Regions from separate parts of the Homo sapiens genome. Here regions 2, 3, 4, 5, 6 and 7 are each linked to region 1. Evidence: promoter capture Hi-C in 16 types of primary human blood cells and fetal thymus (Javierre and others, 2016). All regions are on one chromosome and are shown on one strand. The core of a region is centred on a gene start or on the middle of the fragment in contact, and the rest is flanking DNA. Distances in the headings are between cores, read along the strand shown. Region 1 holds the start of ZKSCAN7 (zinc finger with KRAB and SCAN domains 7). Region 2 holds the start of TMEM42 (transmembrane protein 42). Region 3 overlaps EXOSC7 (exosome component 7). Region 4 overlaps TGM4 (transglutaminase 4). Region 5 overlaps ZDHHC3 (zDHHC palmitoyltransferase 3). Region 6 overlaps TGM4 (transglutaminase 4). Region 7 overlaps ZDHHC3 (zDHHC palmitoyltransferase 3).

Region 1 (3,341 bases), core at 83-2,582:
TAGTAGTATTCATGTTTAAATTACAAATAAACCAATGTAGGGAGTAAGTGATCAAACCTCTTCTACTGATAGAAATGCAAAATAAAGAAAGTTTGGAGCTAAAGCTCTAGAGACACACTTAGAAGCCACACATACTCTTTCTTTGAATTTTTCTTCTTCAACTTTTGGCAAACTTGTCTGTCAAGACCATGAACAAAGGCAACTTTTTCTTGGTTTTCCTGATTGCCCCATCAGGAAGAGTGCTGGTAGCTTCCCTTTGTGTACCTCTCACTATAACCCTTTAACTGGTTTATGCACAACTCACCACTCTCACCCTCCAAACTGCTGCACGGCCACCAAAGGAAAGGAACCAAATGGAATCAGAAAATACTAGACCTTTTTTTACTCAATGCACCTCCCCTAGAAAGCCTTCCTGATCACGCTAGGCTTAGAGAGGTGGTTATTGTCTCAGTGATCCCAAACTACCTTTTTCATTCAAACCTCTAGTAGAGCACATCTCACACTGTAATCGTTTGTGGTTTACACGACTGTCTCCCCTGCTTTCTGGGAGGATACAAAGGGCAGAGCTGACTTCCAGTCATCTTTGTACACGTGTGCACATGGCACACATAATTGGGAAATGAATGAATATGATACATTTAGCTGACACTGAAGTGGAGGAAAACTTTGAACGTTTTAAAATCAGCACCTTACTGGTAACTAGGGCATCTGTGCTGTGCTTCCAGTTCACCAAGAGCCCAGATCCCTGTGTCTCAATCTCTTTAAAAAGACAAAGAAGGACTTTAAAATAATCTGTAAACTCTGCTCTAAGATCCCATATATGTAGAAAGTTCAGGCCATTCTCCTGCTTCCCATAGTGTTCCGAATGCTCAGCACTTTAAAATCTCAATTGGATTTTTGCATTTCCAAGTCACGCTCCACGTTTGCGATTCTGAGCCTGGGTCTGACCCAAATATGACAGTTCATACAGTTTCCTACTGCAAGAGCTGGGAAAACAGCGATCTACCTTTCGTGTTAAACCAGGCTTCAGCAGCGCCGCTCACCTGGCCACGTCTGCCCTGTTCATCGCTGTACCCGCAGATACCCGGCTCCGTGCCACGCACGAATGGTCAGGGGTATGAGACAAAGAAGCGGCTCTACATCGGGCGGCTTCTGAGAGTCACGGGGACCGCGCCGCCTGCCGCCGGGAAGAAGCGCGGTCCTGGCCAGCGTCGGCGACCCGAGCTCCGGCCGCGCCTCCCTCCGCGTCTCGGCCCACTCGCGGTGGCACTCGGCACCGAAGCCGGACACTCTACTGCCCGTTAGACCAAAAACAATGGCCGAGCCGGAAGCGAGAGAGGCCTCGACTTCCGCCCCCTCCGGGATCCCGGAAGTCTCGTTTGCGAAGGTGGGCGCGCGCGTCCCCGCACCCGGGAGAGCTGGCAGGGCTTACTTCTCGGCTGTGCCCGGCCACCTGCCGCGGGCGGGGTCGGGGTCTCGCGAGGGCCCAGGCCACTCACATCCCGCTCTCAGGCCATAGTCGGGGGATCCAGACGCGTCCCAGCTCTACACCTTCTCCTCCAGGTGTCCTTGGGAAAGATACCCAACCTCCAAGCCTGTTTTCTCATCTGAAAAAAATGCAGAGCATAATGCGTACCTCACAGGGCTGGGAGCACCGCATGAGGTTAACAGACACTACATAGCAAAAGGCCTGGCATATCCTGAGCAGTCAGTTATACCATGTGTGATGCCCAATCTGAAGTCTCAGTGAAGGGAGCAGCAAGCATCTCCCATCTTAAAAATGAAGAAGCATGTCTAGAAATTGTGATATTTTGGCCCATAAATGTGGTTAATATTTCGTAAGACAGCACCAGCATTCTGGTGTCCATGTAGAGGTTCCTAGGGAGACCAAGAAGCAGATAAACTGAGAAGGTGTGGGGACAGTTTGTAACCTAGTAGGCAGTTGTCTAGCCTCTGGGTGGCAGGTGGTACCCAGGTGACTTTCACTTTGAAGAATGGTTTGCATACAGAAGGAGGATATGAACTGGTCCTTGTTACAAACATGGTTGAGCAGGCCCTGTGTGTTAATGACCACGGGTGAAGGGCAAAGGGTGTGATGAAGTTAACTGTGTATCTTTATTATAGCACAGGAGATAGGTCCTTTACAGGGCCCAAAGTAAACAGTCTCCTGGACTGTCTAGGGATGGCAATATTTCAAAGGTGCCCTGGGCCTAACCCTGGCCCTGACATATGTTCCTCATATATCTGTGTGAGCCAAGATAGAAACAAAGACACCAGAAGTCCTGCTCCAGAGTTTCCACAAGCTTAAAAGTAATCTCTTGGAGCAATCTTTGTCCATTGATCCTAATGGTGGTTTCCTGTCATCAAGGTCCCCCTCTCCATTTGGAAATCTCACAAGGAGGTTTTGGCTATTTAAAACCAGGAACCCCAGCCTCTGCCTGACATTGATGCTAGACATTGCCTACTGGCAAATCAAGGCCTCAGAAGCTTAGGATTCTTGAGGTGGAAGGCAAATCAAGGCCCCAGAAGCTTAGGATTCTTGAGGAGGAAATCTCCCAAGGCCAGGCTAAATGCTCTCAGACCTGATTTTCAGGTCTCCTTGACCACGTGTTGTCCTGCAGTCCTGGCTTCCTATTATAGGAGACACAAGGATTTGGAAACCAAGATTGAGGTTTTTTATTCTTCAGAGCTGTTTCATGCACAAGTGGTTGGCTTTCATTGGCTGTAAGGACCAGGCCCATCTGAGCAGTGTGTTTAGACTTCAGAGGCACTTCTGTGACCAACACTGTGGGCCTGGCCCGATCTACCATGACTGGGTTGGGCCCCAGTGGGCAAGACACTTGATGATGCCTCGATATAGCACCTTAGGACACCTACCTTTGGGCCAAAGACAACCACAGAAGGCTTTTAGGAATTCTGTACTCCAACTCGATTTCTCTTGAAAATCATCACTCAAGCTTTGGTATGAGAGCTAACAAATAGGTAACTCAAATTCTACATGCCTGAAACGAAACTTACCATCTATCCGCAACCCTGAAGCTCCAACCCATATCCCCATCACTGTAAAAAGTATTATCATTCACCCAGGGACCCAAACTAGAACCCTGGGTGTCATCCCATGAGCTGAGTGACCATGGACAAGTTACTTAGCCTCTCTGTGCATAGCTTCCTTATTTGGAAAATGGGGATAATAATATACTTGAATTGTAGAGTTGTTGTGAGGATTGGATGAGATAAAATACATAAAGCACTTAGAATGGTGCCTGACACATTGTAAGTATTATAGGTGTTTTCTAGTATTGTGTTTACTATCCTTGTTTCCTCTCAGTTCATCCCCTGTA
Region 2 (3,337 bases), core at 710-3,209, 310 kb before region 1:
GCTTGAAGATCAGTCCCAGAGGGCCAAGTAGTTCTTACTCCGTAGGTAGTAAGCCTAGGGTAGAGTTCTTATTTCTTGAGATCAGGCAAAGCATGAATTAGCAATGTCTGCTCTGTATTCCCACCCCCAAATCCTATACAAGTTACAGCCCACTAAGGCTGACCCCCTCTGGGTATTCTTGAGCTTTTACTCTGTGTTAGGTCCTGGGCTGTGTTTAAGCATTCTCATTTATTCCTTAACTTCATTTTACAGATAAAGAGCCAGGGGCATTAAGTAACCTTCCTAAAGTGCTACAGCGGTGAGAGCCACCAGGCTTCACAAGCAGGCAGTGTACCTCCATGCTCTTAACTAGGGCACAGCCTTGCCTGAGGGAAACACCACCTCAGACTATTTAGTGATCCCAGACATCCCTTGGAGAACTTGCAGGTATTTTCTTTCTTTTTTTTTAAAGGAGAAAGTCTCAAGAGAAGAGAAGATCTTTAGAAGCCTCCTACACAAAGGATATGCAGTCCCCCTTGCTTGGTGGTGAGTTAGAAACCTGCCTGGAGACAAGGCGGCGGGGGGGGGGGGTGCGGAATCTAAATATACTTATTACTTGTAATGGTTTCTCAGCAGCTGAACACATAGTGTCTTGAGAAAAAGGTGCTTGCTTATAACTTACACCAGGGTGTTCAATTTTTTGGCTTCCCTGGGCCACACTGGAAGAACTGTCTTGGGTCACACATATAATACACTAACACTAATGATATATGATGAGCTAAAAAAAAAATAATAAATCGCAAAAAAATTCATGTTTTAAATTTGCAAATTTGCGTTGGGCCGCGAGTTGGACAACCTTGTCTTACACAAAGCAGCATATGGGCCAGTGGCAACCTGCTTAAAGGGTTATGAAGGTCTAGTTCCTGACAACAAACTTCACGGCCCATACAAAGTTATTCATTTTACTTTCGACCACTTACCCCATGAACTACACCCAATGGGATACTAACCTGAAGCATGGCAGCTACTACTGGATTAGCCCTAAATAGGCTTAACCCTAAATAATCAGTGACCACTGTCCAGGTCAGAGGCTAACCTTGGGCTGCAGACGCAATGAAACCCCTATAGCAAGCAGAGGCTGGTCTACGACGTGGGAGGGAGAGGCAGAGATACACCTTAGCAGACGCCAGGATGCAAGTTTAGGAGTTCTCAGCGTCAGGAAAACATCCAGAACGTCTCTGTCAGTATCCTCTTATGCCTACAGTATCCCAAACTCCCAATTTTCCTGGTAGTGGGGCAGACTGGTCATCTGGTCACAACACCCGTTAATTACGGAGTAAAGGGATGGGCAAGAGGCTTCTCACCTTAAGAGTCACGTGGAGAGAAATGCTCAGGCACAAGGGACTTAAAATGAGAGGTAGAGGGTGGATGTAGGAGGTGTAGTTCTTCCCCGAGAGCGAACTAGCCCAACCGGAGAAAAGGTTTTAGGTCCCTGGTAAGGGAAGAGGCCTCAGTCCCCGACGTCTCTTACCACCTACACTGGACGAGGGTTTGGCGTGATTAGAGGCGAAACACTCTCTGCCACCCCAGCTGACCGCAGCGCCGCCCGCGGCCCGGGGCCCCGGCGGGACAGACCGGCGAGGGTGCGGCGGCGCCCTGCGCCCACCCCCGCCCCACCCCAAGAGCCCCGCGGGCCCCGCAGCGCCCCTCCTCCGCCCAGCGGCGCCCCGCCCGCCCGCCCGCAGCAGCAGCACCAACAGCGCCCCGGGCTCGACCTCGCTGCCGAAGGCCAGCTTGGCGGAGGCGGCGGCCAGGGCCCCGAACGCGCCGGCGCACAGACAGTTGAATACGCCCCAAAAGCGGCGCCGCATCGCACCCGCCTGGAGGTGCGGAGGGAATTCCGCGGGGGTGTCAGGGTACGCGGTCGCGGACACGGCGCCGCCCGGAGGCCCCGGCCTCTCGGCCATGTTGCCTGCTGACACCGTGCCTGGCACCCGCTGCCCGCAGGGCAGAGCGCGCGCCGCGATTGGATGGCAGCCTCACGTGACGCGACGCTCCTGTGACGCCACGCTCCGGCAGGCCCCTTGGGAATCGCTCTCCGGCGCCTCGGAGGGGGCGGGCCAGGTGGCAGAGACCCTGGGCTGTGGCGGCCTCCGGCCTAACCTGTAGTAGGTTTGTGCTCTGGGGAGGACGTCGGGACCCGAGGCCTGAGGCCAAGCCGGGTACTGTGGACGCTGTGGTAGAAGGTAAACTTCTCGCGGCTTAGCCGTCTCCATCCCGGCCACCCGGCTCCCGGTGAAACTTATTAAAGATGCCTAACGGGCCCCGCGCCGGCCCACCGAGTCCATCCACGTCGACCAGGCTTCTCCGCTCCACCCTCCAGCCTGAGGACCGCCGGACCAAGAGATGCCTCGGCAGAGGGCGCTGGGGACCTCCAGACCCAGAAAGACGCCAGAGCCCCATATGGGGACAAGCGCATCACAGAAAACCGAAAAAATGAGGATCTGCGATGAGAGGAAGACAATGATCCATAATCAAGCCACGCAGAATCAACATGACTTCTAATCTCCTGTTATACTTACGTATGTTTAGAATGTTTCCGGCTGGGCGTGGTGGCTCATGCCTGTAATCCCAGCACTTTGGGAGGCCGAGGCGGGTGGATCACCTGAGGTCGGGAGTTCGAGACCAGCCTGACCAACATAGAGAAACCCCGTCTCTACTAAAAATACAAAATTAGCCGGGCGTGGTGGTGCATGCCTGTAATCCCAGCTACTCGGGAGGCCGAGGCAGGAGAAGCGCTTGAACCTGGGAGGTGAAGGTTGTGGTGAGCTGAGATCATGCCATTGCACTCCAGCCTGGCCAACAAGAGTGAACTCCGTCTCAAAAAATAAAAATAAAAATAAAATGTTCCCATTTAAAAAGTACACGTCCTTGAAAATAAAGTGTTGAAATGTATAAAGTGCTATTTCCACTCTCCAGGAAAATCAGTGTTAATAGAGCATTTTTCTATATGTCTATTTAGTTATATATAGTTAAAATGTTAAAAAAATTATAGAATATGTATATGCATTTTTTAAACAAAAATGATTTCACAGTTGAACATACTGTTTAGCAGCATTCTTTTTGTATCTTCTGTTTAGCAAGTTTTTATGGAAGTCCTTCCACACCATGCTGCTTCTCTCACAGGGTGGTTTTGTGGCTCAAATAAAAGCACGGATAAGGCCAGGCACGGTGGCTCACGCCTGTAATCCCAGCACTTTGGGAGGCCAAAGGTGGGTGGATTACGAGGTCAGGAGTTCAAGACCAGATTGGTCAAGATGGTGAAACTCCATCTCTACTAAAAATACAAAAAAAATTA
Region 3 (3,451 bases), core at 543-3,042, 430 kb before region 1:
AGCAGTTCCCTTCCCCTGCTTCTGGGGGCATGCATTAACTCACTGCATCCTCAAAAACAACCCTGAGAGAGGTTACAGATAAGAATGGAGGCACCTAAGTTTCAATCTCCTGTTTGTGACAGAGTGGAAGGACATTTAAGCACAGACCTACTTTCCCTCACACCCAGGAAGCCCAGTCCTATTACTTCTTAATAGAAACTGACAAGTTGGCGCTACCAATCTGACACATCTGGAAGGACTTTAGACTCAAAGTGGTCCTCTGAGGTTATGTTAACCCCTCATTAACTTGCTTTGACTTGTCTAATACTCCAGATTCCTAAAGGAGAAGTGAGACTAAATTCCTTCCCCTACTAGAAGGTGACTGCCCCCCGCCCTTAGGAAAGGGGCCACATTTGGTCCAGCTTTGCAGGCTCGGGCCCATCACACAGCAGGCAAAAGTAGGTGTTGATCCTTGTTTGACTTTCCAACCCTGTTGAGTAGCCAGGCATTCCTCTGAAAGGATATGGCTCCATAACTCTGCATCCTGCAGTGTCTGGGCATAAGGCTTTCTGTGCCATGGGTCTGTAAACAGAAAGGGCAGAGAGCTAAAAATCAAGAGTCCTGAGGGCTGGCTCCAATTCTGTCATGGCCAGACTGAGCAACCGAATACTGACTGCTCAATCTCATAGTTGAAAACCAGGCTGAGGCCCTGATCTCCCTCTTCCATGCTATACCCCTAAACAATGCTTATGATGAAAGCAAGATCCACAGAAAAGAAATGGAAGCCATCAGCTGGGCTACAACTCCCTTCAACAGCCAAGAACATACAATAAAATGGCTTTCACAGGGTTCCAAGAGCCCTGTGGTAGGGTTCGTCAATTGCCATGGCCAGGTCTGAACCTATGAGGGCCAGTTTAATGTCCAGGTCATAGCCATAGCACTCAGTAGGCTGAACCTGGGAAAGCTTTATTGTGCCTAAAGCCCTGTAAAGGCCACATAACAGTCACCATCCATCCCCAACAGCCAGGACCAGGGGTAGGTGCCTGAACCAAAGGCATATAATCCAAAGGGTGACCAACTCTTTTTGGCGTGAAATACTACCAGACCAAACTGATTCTCTCATTGCAATCTGGTCTCTGATCTGAGAAACACTTGAGAGAAGAAAGGAGTTAAAGAGGAGCTGACAGGTCATGATATGGAGGAGCCCAGAGAGGCCACACGAAAGTAAAGGTATTGGGCAGAGGCAGATTCTACAAAGAAGGGAAGCTGGACAGCAAGTGGCTGCAGAGAAGGGATAAATCTTGGCAGAGAAAAGCAGAGATGTCACTAGAGATAAAGACAGACAGCCACACAGGCCATGAGATAATCCACGGAGCCCATGAGAGGCGGTACCTCAGAGCTGTCTGGGGACTTTCCAGCTCTTGCCACAGATCCCCCTTCTCTTTTTTCTTTTTCTTTCTTTTAAGAGACAGAGTATCTCTCTGTCACCCAGGCTGGAGTGAAATCTCCAACTCCTGGGCTCAAGCGATCCTCTGGCCTCAGCCTCCCAAGCAGCTAGGCCTACAGGCACACACCACCACACACCTAATTTTTTTTAGAGATAGGGTGTTGCTATGTTGCCCAGACTGGATGCCAACTCCTGGCCTCTGGTGATCCTCCCACCTCAGCCTCCCAAAGGGCTGGGATTACAGGTGTGAGCCACTGCACCTGGCCTATCCCTTTTCTTGAGATAATTGAAAAATCCCGATTCCTTCAAATCAAAAGAGGTTTAATTCTCAGGAGCCACAGGCTGAATCTTTAATGAGGTCACTATGAAGGCTGGGGATCTAGTGTGGATGGTTTAAGACAAAGTCACACTTCTGATGGAAAAACAAACTTGAAAGGGAGCCAGCATTTTTTCTGTGTTAACCACAGCCCAAGTGCTTGACATCTCTTATCTCATCATTCCTCATAACCCCATTCTACTTCCAGGTGCATAAGTCCCCATTTTACACAAGGGAAGCAGGTTCAGTTATGCAAGTAAAACCACTTATTGTAAATGGTGAAGGTGCCTGCTCAGTCTGACTCCAAAGCCTCATTCAAAAAGAGGCAGGAAACCATATGACTTCAGCAGGAGAGAGCAGAGATTTCTTTATCTCTGGTCAGTGGCTTACCCATGGGCCAATGTCTGGTGGCTGCCCCCAAATTTCCCAACACTTTATGATAATGTCCATTCTCAGGCCCCAGCCCCAGAGAGTCTGATTCAGAATGTTGGGGTAAAGCCTCAGAATCTGTATTTTGTAGGTGAGTAAAATGCACTTCAAGGCTTCAGAATCCCTGGGCTAAGAGGGAGGTTAGCAATGGCTTCTCATGGATGAGGAAAACACACATCTAGCCCAGTAAGCCAGAAAAGAGGATAAATCCTAGATTCTAAAAATTCTGAAGTCTGCTCCAAGTTCTGCATGGTATGGGCAGAGTAAATCGTTTATGATACTAGTAAGACAAAAGCTATACAAAGAAATGCAATATAGGGTTCTAAAGGAACTTATACTCAATGTGGGAAAAATGCAACCAAAACAATACAGCAGTATATGCCATATACTATTTAAGCTCTAGAAAAACTGGGGAGTGGGAGGTGTCAATTAGAACTTTCTCTTTCCCTTCCAGTTTCCCCACAAGCTTTTAGAGAAAGGGGGAAAGAAAAGGAGGTAGAGGAAGCAAAGATTCTCTCCTGCCTTGATCTCTGGATCCCTACTGAGGAAATGGAAGAAATGACTTTCACTGCAGCAGGAAGGTGGCCTCAGAGTCAAGTATGGGCTTTGCAATCAGACAGGTCTGGATTTAAATCCCAGTGCCACCACTCAATTACTGTGTCACCTTGACAAGCGACTCAACCTGCCCGAGCTCAGTTCCTCATCTATAGAGATAACATTTACCTTCAGAACTGTTGTAAATATTCAATGAAATAAAAATTATAATATGTACCTAATAAGAATGGGATATAGCCTTCAAAGACTGAAAGAGAACCTAACAGAAACCAATCAAATTATTTATCAAAATACCGATTTAATCCACCTTTTTGATTCTCTGTTCTCCCCTGGGAGAGGGGATCTGTTCACCAGGTTGACTCAAATTGTATCACCTAGACTCCCTTTGCTGGCTTCTGGTTGGGTTTGTCCAGTGGAAGATACCAGATCAGAGGGTGCCCCTCACCCCCAATCTAGTGGCCACATTTCTGATAGTGCCTGCATCTATCGAAGACTATGACTTATGTTGGGCAGCCCTTCCTCCACAGTTCCAGCTATCACTGAAATGTGGTAATACTGTTTCCTCCCCTGGCCCCTTTGGAATAGGGGCAGTAGCCACTCCCAGTAGTTGTCTTGGGGCTCCTCAACATCTCTTATTGGTTCCCTGAAACCCCCCCCATACTGCTCTAGAGTCCCATCATAAAAGTCTCCTGAACTACCTGAAGAGGGTTCCATTTTCTGCCAAT
Region 4 (3,613 bases), core at 692-3,191, 330 kb before region 1:
ACACCTTTCTCTTGGAATACAGGCAGCCAGAGTCCCAGAAGGCCATTGGTCCAAGGGCGTCCAGGCCTCTATCCAGCCTTTTAGGATAAATAATAGCTGGAGAGATAATTAGGATACATCAATATTGCTGTAGCCACAATGGTACCAAGAATAATAATTCTCATCCTTGTCACAATACACTTCCATTTGTGGTCCAAGGTCCTCCCATGAGATGCTTATTATTATAACTCATAGGAGCAATAGGCTCTCAGTTCAAATCCCAGCTCTACTCTTCCCCCTTTTTTTTGAGACAGAGTCCTTCTCTCTCACCCAGGCTGGAGTGCAACTGGCTTCTAGCATGGGCATCTGATGGCTTTTGACTTCAGGAAGGCCCCAGGAGAAAGGGCAGGTGTGGAAAAGGGTTGACATAGGATGTGCCACATTTGAGGCTGCAAGATGTCCAGCACCCTCTGGAGAGAAGCTGGTGCTGGCGATGGCAGAAGTAGCCTTGAGTGCCATTGCAGCATTGAACTCCTGGGGTCAAGTGATTCTCCCACCTAAGCCTCCCAACTAGCTGGAACTACACGTGCCCACCATCACTCCTGGCTAATTTTTTTTTTTTTTTTTTTTTTTTTTTTTTTTTTAGTAGAGATGGGGTAGCCCTGTGTTGCCCAGGCTGGCCAGCTCTACCTCTTACTGGCTGTATGACCTTGGCTGATTACTTAACCTCTCCTGTGCCTCAGTTTTCTTGTTTAAAAGTTTGGAATGATAACAGGCCCCCTTCTTTGTGGGAGCATTGTGAAAATTAAATGAGCTAATAAATATAAATGTTTAATTGTCATTATTTTGCTGGTGGGGAAACTGAGGTTCACAGAGGTAGCCCAAGAGGTGGAGCTGGGATCAAACTCACTGTGCTACAACTCCAGAATCCACAAGGCTAACTCCCCATACCCCTCTTGTGGCAAGAGGGAGGAGGTTGTGCCCTCACTGTTCATTACAATGGAGCTCAGGAGAACCAGCCTTCCAGGGTGCAGGAAATGGCCTCCACCTTGATCTGGCTGGTGGTCCCACAGCTGTATTCATATGTAAAAATTCATTGTGCAAACCATTAAGATTTGTGTCCTTTATGTGTGTTATATGTCAATTAAAAAAAATTAAAAATAACACTTTTTGAGTAAAGAAATGCAGCTCCTGCCCACAACCCATGCCCACCTCAGGAGAGATTTTCATGATACCCTGAAAAACACTCAGATGCAAAATTGGGGTTGAGAGTCTGGGATCTGGATGGGAGGGAGAGGAAGGAAGAGGCCGGGGCACTAGCGAGGATTCCAGCAGCAGCTGGCCCATTCATCTCATTTCCACCAGCAGATTCTGCTTCCACAAAAACCCAATGTAGTTGCCATTTTTAAATCATGGCATTAGCTTAGCATTAAACTTCTAGGAATTTAGCCCAAGGAAATATCCATAAACCAGTCCAAAGATCTGGCCGAGACATGGTTCTTTACAACACTGGAAGATTGGAGACAACTGTGAACACCCAGTGCTCCCAAAAAGGGTGGAAAACCAGCCACCGTAAGCCACACACTCGGGCAGAAGCCACTGTGGAAAACATCCATTAGGTCTTGTCAAGTGAGTGAAGCATGAGATGGACCCCCATTTTGTATTTGACCATGACACAGAAAAAGCCTGGAAGGAAGGATGGGTAACTTAGTTGGTGGAACCATGGGTTATTTTTATGTACTTCTCTCCGCTCATGTCCTCCAGTGAACATTGTTCCCTTTGAAATGGAAAGGGGAAGGGTGACATGTAGGAGGTTTGGCCACAGCGATACTGTGTGCTTGGAGGAGGCTGAGTGGGGAAACAGACATTTGGAGCCATGGCCCCTCTATCATGCTGTGCTGTGGATGGCTTTAAACCATGTTACCAGCTGACAGGTGAGGAAGGGGATAGGGGCTGCTCACATTAGGAGCATTCCGCCAGAAGCCAGCCAGCCCACCCGCCAGCCCAGTGGGTGCTCACCTCTTTGCCAGACTCATTTTGAAGGGTTGCCTGCCAGTTGTAGTGGTCTGAGGGCGTCCTCGGGTCGAGCACCACCAGGGTGTGTTTGGCGATGCTAGGATTCGGCCCTGGAGACACCCAAAGGAAAACATTGGCCCAGCCATGGGCCACCCCCAAGACAATCTCCTCTGGTTCGGGCCCACCTACTGCCCACTCATGGAGCCCCCACCCCTCCTTTCCAGGCTCATTTGTCCCCTGGCTCCAGCCCCTCTAATTCTGCAGGGGCCTCCTTCTGCCCCACATGTCCAGTTTTAGTTTTCTGTTCAATTTAGATGAGCTTCCTGCCTCCTCTCCACGTCCTCCCTTTTTACCCATCAGATCCAGGTCTCCCTAGAGCTCCTGCCTCTGTCACATGCTCATTCGAGTTACCATTTGTTTAACCCTGCTGGCTCGTGCCACAGACCAACATGCTTGTTCACTCCACGCAATGCAGGGGAACTGCTTAACCTTCACTCCTCGTCTGGAGGAGGCAGATGCCACCGCCTACCCTGCAAGCTGTTGCAGGATCTTGTTTGAAAGGTCGGTCAGTTTATGTCATGAGCTCCAGGGACTACTAGAATCAAATCCAACCTCTTTCCATAGCCCACAGGTGGCCCTCAGTGAGGCTTCTCCCCAGCTCCCCACTTTCCTCCCTGTCATGACTGGGTTTCTGGTCCCCAGAGAGTTAGCTCATGACAAAGAGCATGTGACACAAGTGTTGTCTCCTCAGGGCCCTGGCACTTGCCGTGCTCATGGCTGGGAACACCCTGCTCTCAGCTCTTCACATGGTGGGACGTGGGTCTCAGCAGGGTCACTTCCCAGGGAAGCCCTTCCAACCCTGACAGAGTCAGCACCGACAGAGTCAGCCCCGCCCTGACCTGCTGCTTTCTGTCTTGCTGGAGGAGCCTCTTGTTTTTGGTTTCTTCATCATATCTGGCCCTGTCTGAAATTATCTTGCACTTTTGTTTGTTTACTGCTCTCTCTGCTAGTACAGTCAAGTCTAGGAGGCAGGAACTGCTTTACCTCTGGGTTCCCTGGCACAGAGTAGGTACTCAACAAATATTTGTTGAGTGAGTGATTCACACTATGTCATACATGGAGAGTGCTCAGTGCAACACCTGGCATGTGGCAAGTACTCAGGAAATTTTGGGTGAGGGAATGCACATGGACCCAGGGGTACTATAAAGTCACTGAAGTCAGCAACAGCACGGTCCCAGTCCATGCGTTGAGCAGGTAGCTCATGGCATGGCACACAGTAGGTGCTTATTTCATCTTGGATGAAGGGAATGGAGGCTGTTCTGACTGATCTCCACCAGCACGTTGGAGGAGACCCTAAGCCTGTTGTTCACTCAGAGAAGGAGCAAAAGGAGCGCTCTCCCAGGAAGTGCTATTGTATGCCATCTTGTAAAGTAGATCTACCTGATCTAATTTTTTTTTGAGACGGAGTTTCACTCTTGTCGCCAGGATGAAGTGCAATGACACTATCTTGCCTCCCTGCAACCTCCACCTCCCAGGTTCAAGCAATTCTACCTCAGCCTCCCGAATAGCTGGGATTACAGGCACCTGCCACTATGCCCAGCTAATTTTTGTATTTTTA
Region 5 (3,440 bases), core at 457-2,956, 380 kb before region 1:
ACAGACCCTCTGGACTGAGCGTGCCCAGGGAGAATGCAGGCCCCAAGCAAGCACAGAGGCCGGTTCCAATGCGTGGGAGCCATGCTGGGAGAGAAGTTTTGTTTTCTGTCTTTCCATGAGGCACTTAAATCAAAGATCATTTTATTCCAGTCTTGCAGAGATTCATTTTTTACTTTCTGGCTAGGACATGGAGTTTCTTTATTAATTTCTTTGGTTTTTGTGATGGTGTTTTTTAACTGCTTACACTGATAATCGTGAATTTACATTAAGATTGTAGATAATTCTTCCTGCTTTAGAGGCTTCCCACTGAAATGTGCAAATACTGAGGGAGAAACTCCAGCCAGAAGATTGCACAGATCCTGAAGGAAAACAATAGATGCTGGAGGAAAAGAAATAAGAGGCCACCTGCTGGGCTGGCTCTTTCATACTCACAATCTGTGAGACAAACGTCTTGAGCAAGGAACATTGTATTTCCTAAGCTTTTCCCTCCATGGGCCTCCTTTTTTTTATTTCACTGTCTTTAGAACTTTTGCTCTTCCTATACATGCTGACTTCTTCCCACAATTCTGGCATAAGTCAAATGGCAGAGGTCAAGCCAGCAGACAATAGAGATAGGAGAGGAGGGTAGGGGTGAGTGGGTATGTGCAGAACTTGCCATTCTGCATATCTAGGTGAGTCGCCAGCAAGTTCCTGATCACTTGGTGAGCATTCTGAAGTACATGCCTTCTGCTAGGCCTGGGGAACCAGATCTACTCCAGATGTGGCCTTGGTTACTTGACAAGGGAGTCCAATTAGGATATTTTATCATCCCAAACACCTCCCACCTCTCGTCAAGTTAACAGACTTGGGCAGGTGATAGGGGTAGCACAGACTGTCAGTGAGGCAAAATGTCCCTGTTGTTGTAATGGTGCTGGAAGGCACCATTGCATTAATGCCTACTGGGAGCCAGGAATGGCCCAAAGGGCTTTTTGAGCAGTGCATTGTTTCGCCCTTATAACAAGCCTGCAAGGTAGGAGAGATGCTTCCCACTTTGCAGATGACAAAAGCTGTGGCTCACAGAGGATGAACAAGTTTCCAGGATCACTCAGCTAACAAGAGGGTCTGTAGTTCAAGCCTAGGTCTGGAGCAAGATTTTTAGCCCTGTCTGGTTGACTCCAGTGGTCAGGGTCCTCCCAGCCATGCTCTTGATTAACTGTGGTCAAAATTCCTGATGGAGTGAGCTTCAGGCACCCAGCTTCTATGGCAGCTAGGCTGGGAAGGCACAGGTCAGTACCCAAAGTTGAGGCCTGAGAGTTGACTGTATATGACCATTACTGCCCTCACTGCTCAGCCCTGGTGGAGCTGTTGGGCCATAGGAGCTGGTGTGAGTGGGGGCAGAGGGCTGTCCCCCAGGATTAGGGCACTTTGAGTTGATATTTAAAGAAGGGTAGGGAGGTGGTTCCACACTCCCTGATCTGATTCCTACCTCCCCAAACTCCATTGGTAATTCCTGGGGCCCAGCCTACAGAGGAATGATGCTTGCTGCTTTGCAAGGAGGGAGAATAGGCCATGGCCCTGGGCTCTTCCACCAGCTCCAGGGCAGCAGAGGTAGGTAAGAAGGAGGTGCTTTGTCCAGCAGGCACCCCCATGTGCTCCTGCCAGGCCAAGGCCGAACTGTGCAGATGTTCTTTCATGAATTCTTAAGTATTCCCCTGTACAGAAAGGAAAACAAAATCTCAGAAAGCCCAAACCTCTTGCCCAGATCCTTTTGTTGTCAGGCACTGTCCCAAGGCTGGTTGTACAGCAGTAAGCAAAACAAAGTCTCCCCGCTCCTGGAGTTTGAAGTGTAGTGGGAGAGGCACCTATCAAACCAGTACAGAAAGAAACAGGTAATTCCACAATGCAAAGGACAGGAAAGACACAGGGGCTGGAACAGAATATTAGTATGGGCCTTGTAGTTAGAGCTCATGATCAGGAATTGGTGCCAGGATTTGTACCTCGTGGTGTCTGCCAGATGTCAGAGCCTCTCATTCTCCCCAATACCCTGCCCAGCCCAAGGCCACCCATACTTGTAGCCACCCACGGCCAGGCCATCAGGCTGGTGGCCACCCCAACCAAGCCCTGCCCCACAAGGAGCCAAGAAGAGAAATCATTCTGAGGCATCGATAAGTTCCCAGGGAAACCTGAGGAGATATGCATTGTGGATGAGATGTTTCTTACCTGTCACCCACATGGTGCTTGGTATCTTTCCAAGCTCATTCCCACATTTGACCTCCCTTGCCCCTCCTGACATTCCCGTGGGGGAGCCAGCAGGACAGCTTGGATGGAGTGCTTACTCCCTTAATTCCCAGAATTAATGAAGCCCGACTCTGCCCTCCAGGATCTGATCTTTCCAGCCAGGGAAACAGGCACAAGTATGGAAGCAACGAGAAATAAACCACAGCCCAGGCTCAGCCAGCATGGGCCGCTGCACTGAGGCACAGAAGTCCTTAGGTGAAGAGTGCCAACCAAGGGGCCTAGCCTGTCTGTCAGCACCATCTTCCAGGCCTGGCATTTCCCAGGCCACCTTGCTTCAGGGCCTTCCCCTCCCTGCTCACCCCCACCATCTCCACAGCACCTTTGCCTTTCTCTTCCATGCGCTGGGTTTCTGACTTAGACTTTGTTCAGACAAAAGATTCTGCTTAAAAGCAAACCATACCTCTAGTCAAATCTCACTGCTTCACAGTGCAGTGGGTGGAGGCCTGAAGATGGCAGGACTGGCCTCAGGTCCCCGGGGCTGGAGGCCAGGACAGTGAAAGTGCCTACTCTGGGCCCATGCCTCTTTGGTCGACTCCCTGGCCTTTGGCACTGTTGGCCTCGGTGCTGCAAATGTCCCTGGGAGCGGGGGCAGTGCATTACCTCACACTGTGGTCAAGGCTGAGACCCAGTAGTTCAGCTGCCCCTGCCAAGCTTAAAATCCCAAAGCCACCAAGTGATCCTCCACAGCTGCCTGTGAGCTGATGGGGCACAGAGGGGCAGCACGTCATACAGGAATGCCCAGAAAACCTATGGCCATAGCAGGACTGGACAGGCCTCTCCACCTGTGTACCTGCATTGTGCTCTCTGAGGAGAGCAGGGTCCCCTGTGGTGTCGTCAGGCGTTCATGCCTCACTTCAGAGGCCTTCCTGGGCCCTTCCATGTGTCAGGCACTGTGCTTGGCACTGGGGGCAGTGAACAAGGAATGATTTGTGTTAGGGAAGGGAAGCCCTGGCTGGGGCCTGGCCTGTTGAGGAGGCCTCCCTGAGGGATTGAGAGATAGCCAGTGTGGGCCAGGATGATTCTCACCGTAGCCTGGAGGCCAGAGACCTATGGCACCCAGGAGGAATGAAGGCCTGCAAGCAGGAGGCAGAGTGGGCGCCTAGTGGGGCAGTGAGCCTGGGCAGCAGGCAGTGGGTGACAGTACCAATCCCTGTGTGCTGCTT
Region 6 (3,466 bases), core at 756-3,255, 350 kb before region 1:
TGAGGTCAGGAGTTCAAGACCAGGCTGGCCAATATGGGGAAACCCCGTTTCTACTAAAAATACAAAAATTAGCCGGGTGTGGTGGCATATGCCTGTAATCCCAGCTACTCAGGAGGCCAAGGCAGGAGAATCACTTGAACCTGGGGACGGATGGAGATTGCAGTGAGCCAAGATCGTGTCACTGCACTCCAGCCTGGGCAACAAAGTGAGACTCCACCTCAAAATAAATAAGAATCAAATTTAAAAAATTGAATACAAAACTGCTATAAAAAAATTCACAGCACATAACACTCTACTGTGTAAAGACACCATACCAATATGAAAAAATAAATGACTCAGTAGAAAAATGGACAAAAGTTAGGAACAGGCAATTCACAGGAGAGAGTCAATTAATGTAAGAAATATTCAACCTCACAAATAATCAGATGCAAAGTAAAGCAATGAGATTACTTAACCACTAGATTGGCAAGAATCAAAAAGATCTGTCGGTAGAGCATAAATTGATGCAATCTTTTCTCAAAGTAATTTGGCACTAGCAAAATGTATCTACATTTTGACCCTGTGACCCCATACTGGGAATTCACTTCTCAGGAATATGCACACATGTGCAAGATATATGTCCAGAAGCATATTTCTAAGAATACCTCAGGCAGACTCACCCATGGTCAGAGGTCTGTAGTGAGGAGATGCCCAGGCTTTCCAAAGAGAACTTGACGTCAGTCAAAGGGATGGCCAGGGTATTCTTGAAGATACAATTGCAGACAAGTAGCTGGCCAATTCTGCCTGTGTTAGGCAACTGTAGTAGGGTGGGGAGGAGAGATGGGGAGAGAAGATATGCATGAGCCAACCAAGGACCCTCAGGGTTCTTAGGGGCCCCGTCACACTCCATGGCCAACTTCCAGGCAGAAGGAGCCCTTTATGGCCTGCAGGAAGCTCACCTCTATAGAGAACTCAGGGTACTGGAAAGACGTGAATACTTCAGAGGCCATGATTTCCTTAGACTCCACAATTTCCGCAATGATGAAACCTCTGATAACTGGCTCATCATCTAATATAGCCAGGCTGTTGATGTAGGTCTTGGAGTCCAAGGTCAGAGTCACTTCTGATACTGCCAAAGAGTCAGGGTGGAGGGGAGAGGTCATTCATCATACCCCCCCAGTATGAGTTCTCCTCATCAAGCACAGAATTAGATTAACTTTGTGTGAATTGAACTGGATAACTTTGGACATGTCCCATACTCTCTTTAGAAAACAAGACGTTGGGCTCAAGATGGAATAATAATTGGCCAAGTTCTCCAAGCTTACATCCTGAGTCCATGACAGACATTACCCGTTGTCATCAGGACATCCCACTTGTTCCCAACACTGTGCCTTGGGTACTCATAATCATTGATCTGACTGGGCATCTGAGATTAAAATTTCTGCCACCATAGAAGACTTCTCATGACACTTTCAGCACCCCTAATTTATAACTCTACGATAGACCCAGGCTCCTAGTCCAGTGGTCTCTTTGGCTCACTTTTCTTCTGTGGCTGGCTTTCTTGTGACTACCAAGGGGTAGGTGCTCAATAAATGTTTGTGTTAACTCACACACAAAAATTTATCAATGTATGGAAGTTGTCCACAGAGGAGAAGAGGGATTTCAGATTGTGGGACCCTGAGCCCACTTGAGGCCTCTCCTCCCTCTGGTTCTGGTACCTTGACCTTGGATCTGCGAGGTCTTATTGAGGTCACACAGTTTTGCCATCTTCTTGCCAGTGTACAACTGTAGTTCAAAGGAGCCCAAGATGTTGACATTCTGTAGGGCAGCGGTCTTCCTTTTAAGAATCACGGTGAAATTAACAGAGTTTCCCAGCAGCACATCATCTGATTGTACCGACATGTGAAGAAAGTTCTCTTTTACAGGTCGTCTGTGCTCCCTCTCAGAACTGAGAAGGAGGAAGGCATGATCCATGACCTGCCTCTCCTCAGAGGAGCCTGAAAGAGACACAAAGGCAGCTTCCTTCAGGTGCTCCTTCAAGGACCAAATGTCCCAACCACCCGTGTGGCAGAAGGAGACCATCTGCCTGGCCAGGACTCCAGAGACATCCCTGGAGCCCATGAGCTATAGATTCACACAGAGGATCATTCAAATCCCCATTCCTAAGCAATAGCACATTCTGACATCAGTGGGAATGGCAGAATAAAGACCTCCAAAAATCTGCTTCTCCATAAAAGCAATGAGAACATTGGCAAAAATTATCAAATCAACTTTTTCAGAATTCTTGAAATTAACTAAAGGCTTATAATAATCTAAGGAGCATTTATTCAAGAAAAACAGCACAATCTCAGTAAGAATAGTTTTGTGGCATTCTGATTCCCATCTCCCCTTCTTTCCAGCTCCAGAGTAGACTCAAAAACCACAGCACCAAATCACAGTGAAAACCAGCAGCCTAGCCACCTCTGGAGGGGACAGAATGGTTTTGGAGTTCCGCTAAAAGCTCCACTACCAGAGAATTGTTGTTAATTGACCTAAGGGCGATTCCCTGGAAACCCTCATTCACAGAGTTTGTCTTCATTGACCTGACTCAGAGCTCCCTCATTACCAACAGCCTTTTCCCTGGAGCATTTGTTAAGACAAACAACCTGCAGCAATTGTTTACAACTGCAGTTTCCTAAGGCAATAAGGAAAAGAAGGGAGTTGAGGGGAAAAGAAGCCGACCAAAAAGCTTAAAAGGAAAAGCTGAGGGACAAAATGTCCACGGGGGCTTTGAAAAGCTCAGACAGATTCCTGGAAATCTAGAAGGTCTGAGAAAGATCTGATAAGGCTCTCACCTCTAACTGACCTTGAGGCTCAAGCAAGAAGTGAAGGCAGAATTGTAAATTGCCTGCCAGAGCATTGAAATGTACCCTAACTTGTACACAGAGCCCCTTGCCAAAGGCTAGGAGTCTTAATGATTCAAGGAATTTAAAGCAATATCCATCTAATCATTAGCTGACCATTCAGCAAACTGAGCAGAGAATTCAGTGGTCATGGACAAGAAAGATTATAGAATTTCTGGAATTATATCAGAGAAGTTGTTAAACAAATAGCAACCACAAAAGCAACCCTGGGATGGGGGACAGGATCTGATTTCCAGAGTTGCCATATTATGTTCTTTAAAATGTCCAATTTTTAACAAAAAATTACAAGACATGCAAACAAACTATAGGCCATACATGGTGGTGTGGGGGTGGCAGGGTAGGAACATGGAAACAGTCAATAAAAACTGTCCCTAAGGAAGCCCTGACATTGAACCTACTAGACAAAGACTTTAAATTAGCTATTTTGAATATATTCAAAAAACTAAAAAAAAAGTGTGAGAACAAATGGCTTGCCAAATAGAGAATATCGAGAGAGATTAAAATTATTTTTAAAAAAGAACCAAATATAAATTCTGGAGTTGAAAAGTACAATAATAGCAGATTAGAGCTTGCAGGAAAATCAG
Region 7 (3,481 bases), core at 962-3,461, 400 kb before region 1:
ATATGTTTGTCTTCTGATAGTGACATAGGTTCTAGACTTGGATTGTCTGGGTCAGAACCCTACTTCTGCCACTTATTAGCTGTGTTACCTTGGGAAGATGCTTGACTTCCCTGCCTTTGTTACCTCATGTTTAAAATGGGGAATACCACAATCTCTACCTCATAGGTTTGTTGTCAGAAGTAACTAACACATACAGTTTTGTCACAAAGCATTTGGAACTATGCCTGGCCTGTAAGTGCTCAATAAATGTATCATTATTCAGCTTGAGTTATTGAATACATTCTTCGTGCCAGGCCCTAAGCAGTTTGCTGAGCTACAAGTTGACAGATGTTGTCTTGTCCTCCAGGAATGTCTTGTGATGTAGGAGAGATGGTGTGTAATTAAATGACGTGTTCCATACTATACATACAAGCTGTGGTAGCACAAAGGCTAAGTAATGGGTTCTGCCTTGGATGTGGCCTGGGGCCATGAGGAAGTAGCAGAGAAGGTGATCCCTGGGTGCATTTTAATTTGGGTGCTAGAAGCAAGGAGGTGCCTGGCAAGTTGGAGCGGGTGAGGGTTTGGTTGGTGCTTAAATGGAGCCCCTGAGGGTAGAAAGGAAAACTTAGAATGTTGCCTTTGGGAAACTCCAAATAGACCACAGGGAGGGACTGTTTACGGAGGGAGGTGGCACTGGATTGGTAGTCCAGAGCTGAGATATGGTGGCCTCAAGAGCCCTGCCCAGGAGCTTGGACTCTGGTCCATGGTCCCTAGGGAGCCAGTGAAGGTTTTAGGCCAGGGGAATAATGTGATCAGATTTCCATTTAAGAAAGTTTACTCTGGAAATTAGTTGGGAGAAAGGATAGAAGTGGGTTGCAGGATTTGAGGGAGAGACTAGAGGCAGGAAGACCTGGGAGATGCTCTAATAGTCTGGGGCAGATGATGATGGGCTGAACTAAGGCATGATGATGGCATGGAGGGGAGAGCATGGGATTCAAGGCACAGTCTGAGGCAGAATTAACCTGGTGGAGTGAATGGGATGTGGGGAAGAGGATTAGAGGAATTGGTGGTGGTTACTGGATTTCTACCCCAGGTGACAGGGTACATGGATATGCCATGGGCCAGGAAAGGGAGACTTGAGGGAACAGTTTGGGGAGAAAGCAGCAGGTTCCGTTTTAGCTGTGCACAGTGCCTTTGGGACAGCCAAATAGAGAGATCTGCAGATTCAAGAGGTCTGAGTTGGAGCTTGTGATTGGAGCATTATCACCGAGTGATGGTGGAAGTAGAGTTGAAGATTGTTCAGGAGAGAGTGCAGAATGAGCAGGGAAGGAAGGAGTCTTGGGGTGAAACCCTGAACCCTGAGGAACACCAGTAGCCTGGATGGGCGGGATTCCAAGAGGAGGGGAGAGGCACAGCCCCACAGACAGGGAGAAGGACAGTGAGGAGACCCCAAGGAAGACAAGGGCTAAGAATTGACTTTTGGATTTGGCCACAGTGAGTTGCTCAGTGACCTGGTGCGAACAGTTCCCTGGTATGGAGGGGACAGGTGCATGAACAGTAAGGGAGAGGTCAGCAGAGACATCAGGTGCACAAGGCTTCAAGCAGCTTAGCTATGAAAGGGCAGGGAGAGCTCAGAGCCTGCTAAGAACACAAGGAGAAAGCTTGGAGGTAATGGTATGGGGGCCCTGAGGGCCAGGATTGACTTGAGCCTCATCTTCCAAGACAGTGGGTACCCGTGAGTCCAGGGACAGTGAGGCAGTGAGATGAGGAATATGAGAAGGATTTAACCCTAGCAGCCTTAATTTGCTCCAAAATAGAAAAGGAAGTGGGCAGGGGTCAAGGAAGGTACTAGAAGTTTGGGCTACCTACTAAGGGGAATGGCTGATGGAGGCACATCACACCCTACCCCACCCCTAAATACACACAGGTGCACATACAAGTACCATTATGTTCCTTCTGCACTGAAAACTCAGAGCTCTGTGCAGAGAATGTGGAAGGAGTTCTGCCATGACTAGAGCAGAAAAGCTTTAACAGCTTCTACACACTTATTTTAAAACAGATTTAAATTGGTTCCACTGTGGGGCCAAATGTATATTTTGGAAGCTTTGTGATCTGCTTTTTATGAGCCTATAGATTTTTTAAAGTGTTTTTACTTTAGTACAAAGAGAAAAGACTTTAAGAATATGTTTCAGAATGTTGGTAGTACTTGTCTTGGGTGATCAAATCAGAGTGAATTTTTCCTTTTCCACTTTTTCATCTGTATTTTCTTTCTTAAAACCATGAACAAGTATTACTTTGGAAATGAGAGAGATAAAGTCAGTGCATTTTGACCTGCTAGGCTTGCAGCAGTGTGGAAGCTTCAAGACATCCCTGTGGAGTGTGTAAGAACGTGGGGTAGGGGGATAGGCATTTCTCAGTAATGCAAGCATGACAGCAGTGACAAAAATGTCTCAGGCCTTCAATCTCCTGCTGTCTGTCCAGGATTGTAAAGAACAAAGTTCCTTACCATGAACTAATAACAAAGAGCTCTGAAATCTGTGGAGATGAGCCCAAAAGAGCATAATATGCATTTTAAAAAAGAATGAAACAAAAAGTTGCCTGAGGCAGAGACTGGAAAGTGTATGCATCAGACTCCTCAGTCTTGGGGGCTGGCCCAGCTGCTCTCTGGCTCTGAGAGGTGGGCTCAGGTGGTTGGATGGGTGGGGCCCTGCCTGAATGGAGATGGGCCTTTTGGGAGATTTATGCAAATGGAGTCTCATTGTGGGGGCACATGTTTAGAAAGGCTGAGCTGCTGAATGATGTCTCTACTCAAGGTCTGGAATAAATAGGCCGTAATGAGAATACCAAACAAGAGCTCTGATTCCCTTTTATGGGTTAGAGGTTTCCTCTTGCAGTCTTTTATACAGGGTCCCCTGGGGCTTACAGTACATTCTGGTGGCTGGGACCTTCTTAAAAACTGGGACTAAACAAAAAAACCACCTGGGCCATAATTTAGGAAAACTCAAGCCTCGTTGCTTCATGTCCTTGGGGGAAAGGATGTCCCTTTGCACTTTTTCTCTTATACACATGACAATAGTAACTTCTAGTTGTGGTTTTCTGGTTTTAGGATCCACACAGTTGCCCAAACTCAATTACTTTTTACATGAAAGAGAACACAGCTGGGGACAATGGCTCACACCCCTGTAATCCCAGCACTTCAGAAGGCCAAGGCAGGAGGATCGCTTGAGTCCAGGAGTTCAAGACCAGCCTGGGCAACATAGTGAGACCCTGTCTCTAAAAAATTTTTGTAATTAGCTGGACATGGTGGCTTGTGCCGGTAGTTCCAGCTACTTGGGCGGCTGAGGTGGGAGGATCACCTAAGCCTGGAAGGTCAAAGCTGCAGTGAGCTGAGATCGTGCTACTGCACTCCAGCCTGGGCAACAGAGCAAGACCCTGTTTCAAAAAAAAAAGAAAAAATAATGAAAAATAAGGCCCTTTGGGCTTGAGACCCTGTCCTCTGCCT

Evidence for each region. Contacts are between HindIII fragments. The CHiCAGO score rates a contact against its expected background, and 5 or more counts as called.
Region 2: the fragment with the promoter of TMEM42 here is called in contact with the fragment with the promoter of ZKSCAN7 in region 1 in 5 of 17 cell types (M1 macrophages, M0 macrophages, non-activated CD4 T cells and 2 more); the score reaches 8.1 in M1 macrophages.
Region 3: a fragment that was not itself captured here is called in contact with the fragment with the promoter of ZKSCAN7 in region 1 in 2 of 17 cell types (total CD8 T cells and naive CD8 T cells); the score reaches 5.4 in total CD8 T cells.
Region 4: a fragment that was not itself captured here is called in contact with the fragment with the promoter of ZKSCAN7 in region 1 in 5 of 17 cell types (endothelial precursors, naive CD8 T cells, total CD8 T cells and 2 more); the score reaches 5.6 in endothelial precursors.
Region 5: a contact is called between a fragment that was not itself captured here and the fragment with the promoter of ZKSCAN7 in region 1, in 5 of 17 cell types (total CD8 T cells, naive CD8 T cells, total CD4 T cells and 2 more). The highest score is 8.0, in total CD8 T cells.
Region 6: a fragment that was not itself captured here is called in contact with the fragment with the promoter of ZKSCAN7 in region 1 in 16 of 17 cell types (total CD8 T cells, naive CD4 T cells, endothelial precursors and 13 more); the score reaches 13.6 in total CD8 T cells.
Region 7: a fragment that was not itself captured here is called in contact with the fragment with the promoter of ZKSCAN7 in region 1 in 5 of 17 cell types (naive B cells, total CD8 T cells, activated CD4 T cells and 2 more); the score reaches 7.0 in naive B cells.

Annotation. Positions count from the first base shown.
Region 1 is chr3:44,553,184-44,556,524 of GRCh38, reverse strand. It overlaps ZKSCAN7 (zinc finger with KRAB and SCAN domains 7), which reads right to left and starts at 1,332. Exons shown (of 6, transcript NM_001288590.2): 1 at 1,044-1,332. RefSeq lists silencers at 1,279-1,418, 1,529-1,578. The HindIII fragment of the contact is 2,808 bases long and covers 1-2,305 here.
Region 2 is chr3:44,860,534-44,863,870 of GRCh38, reverse strand. It overlaps TMEM42 (transmembrane protein 42), which reads right to left and starts at 1,959. Exons shown (of 3, transcript NM_144638.3): 1 at 1,755-1,959. The coding sequence starts at 1,946. MIR564 (microRNA 564) reads right to left here and starts at 1,983; the gene lies at 1,890-1,983. It also overlaps a transcript of KIF15 not described here. RefSeq lists silencers at 1,450-1,499, 1,830-1,879 and an enhancer at 1,910-2,499. The HindIII fragment of the contact is 26,756 bases long and covers 1-3,337 here.
Region 3 is chr3:44,979,877-44,983,327 of GRCh38, reverse strand. The region is part of intron 1 of EXOSC7 (exosome component 7); the gene reads right to left. Among named protein-coding and RNA genes, the nearest start is that of EXOSC7, 5.4 kb to the right of the region's middle. The HindIII fragment of the contact is 1,694 bases long and covers 946-2,639 here.
Region 4 is chr3:44,886,181-44,889,793 of GRCh38, reverse strand. TGM4 (transglutaminase 4) reads right to left here. Exons shown (of 14, transcript NM_003241.4): 3 at 1,999-2,105. Among named protein-coding and RNA genes, the nearest start is that of TGM4, 13 kb to the right of the region's middle. The HindIII fragment of the contact is 7,378 bases long and covers 1-3,613 here.
Region 5 is chr3:44,929,446-44,932,885 of GRCh38, reverse strand. All of the region lies in intron 5 of ZDHHC3 (zDHHC palmitoyltransferase 3), which reads left to right. Among named protein-coding and RNA genes, the nearest start is that of ZDHHC3, 45 kb to the left of the region's middle. The HindIII fragment of the contact is 2,449 bases long and covers 482-2,930 here.
Region 6 is chr3:44,908,600-44,912,065 of GRCh38, reverse strand. It overlaps TGM4 (transglutaminase 4), which reads right to left. Exons shown (of 14, transcript NM_003241.4): 11 at 1,698-1,976; 12 at 939-1,108; 13 at 660-796. Among named protein-coding and RNA genes, the nearest start is that of TGM4, 36 kb to the right of the region's middle. The HindIII fragment of the contact is 1,408 bases long and covers 1,302-2,709 here.
Region 7 is chr3:44,949,791-44,953,271 of GRCh38, reverse strand. All of the region lies in intron 2 of ZDHHC3 (zDHHC palmitoyltransferase 3), which reads left to right. Among named protein-coding and RNA genes, the nearest start is that of ZDHHC3, 25 kb to the left of the region's middle. The HindIII fragment of the contact is 254 bases long and covers 2,085-2,338 here.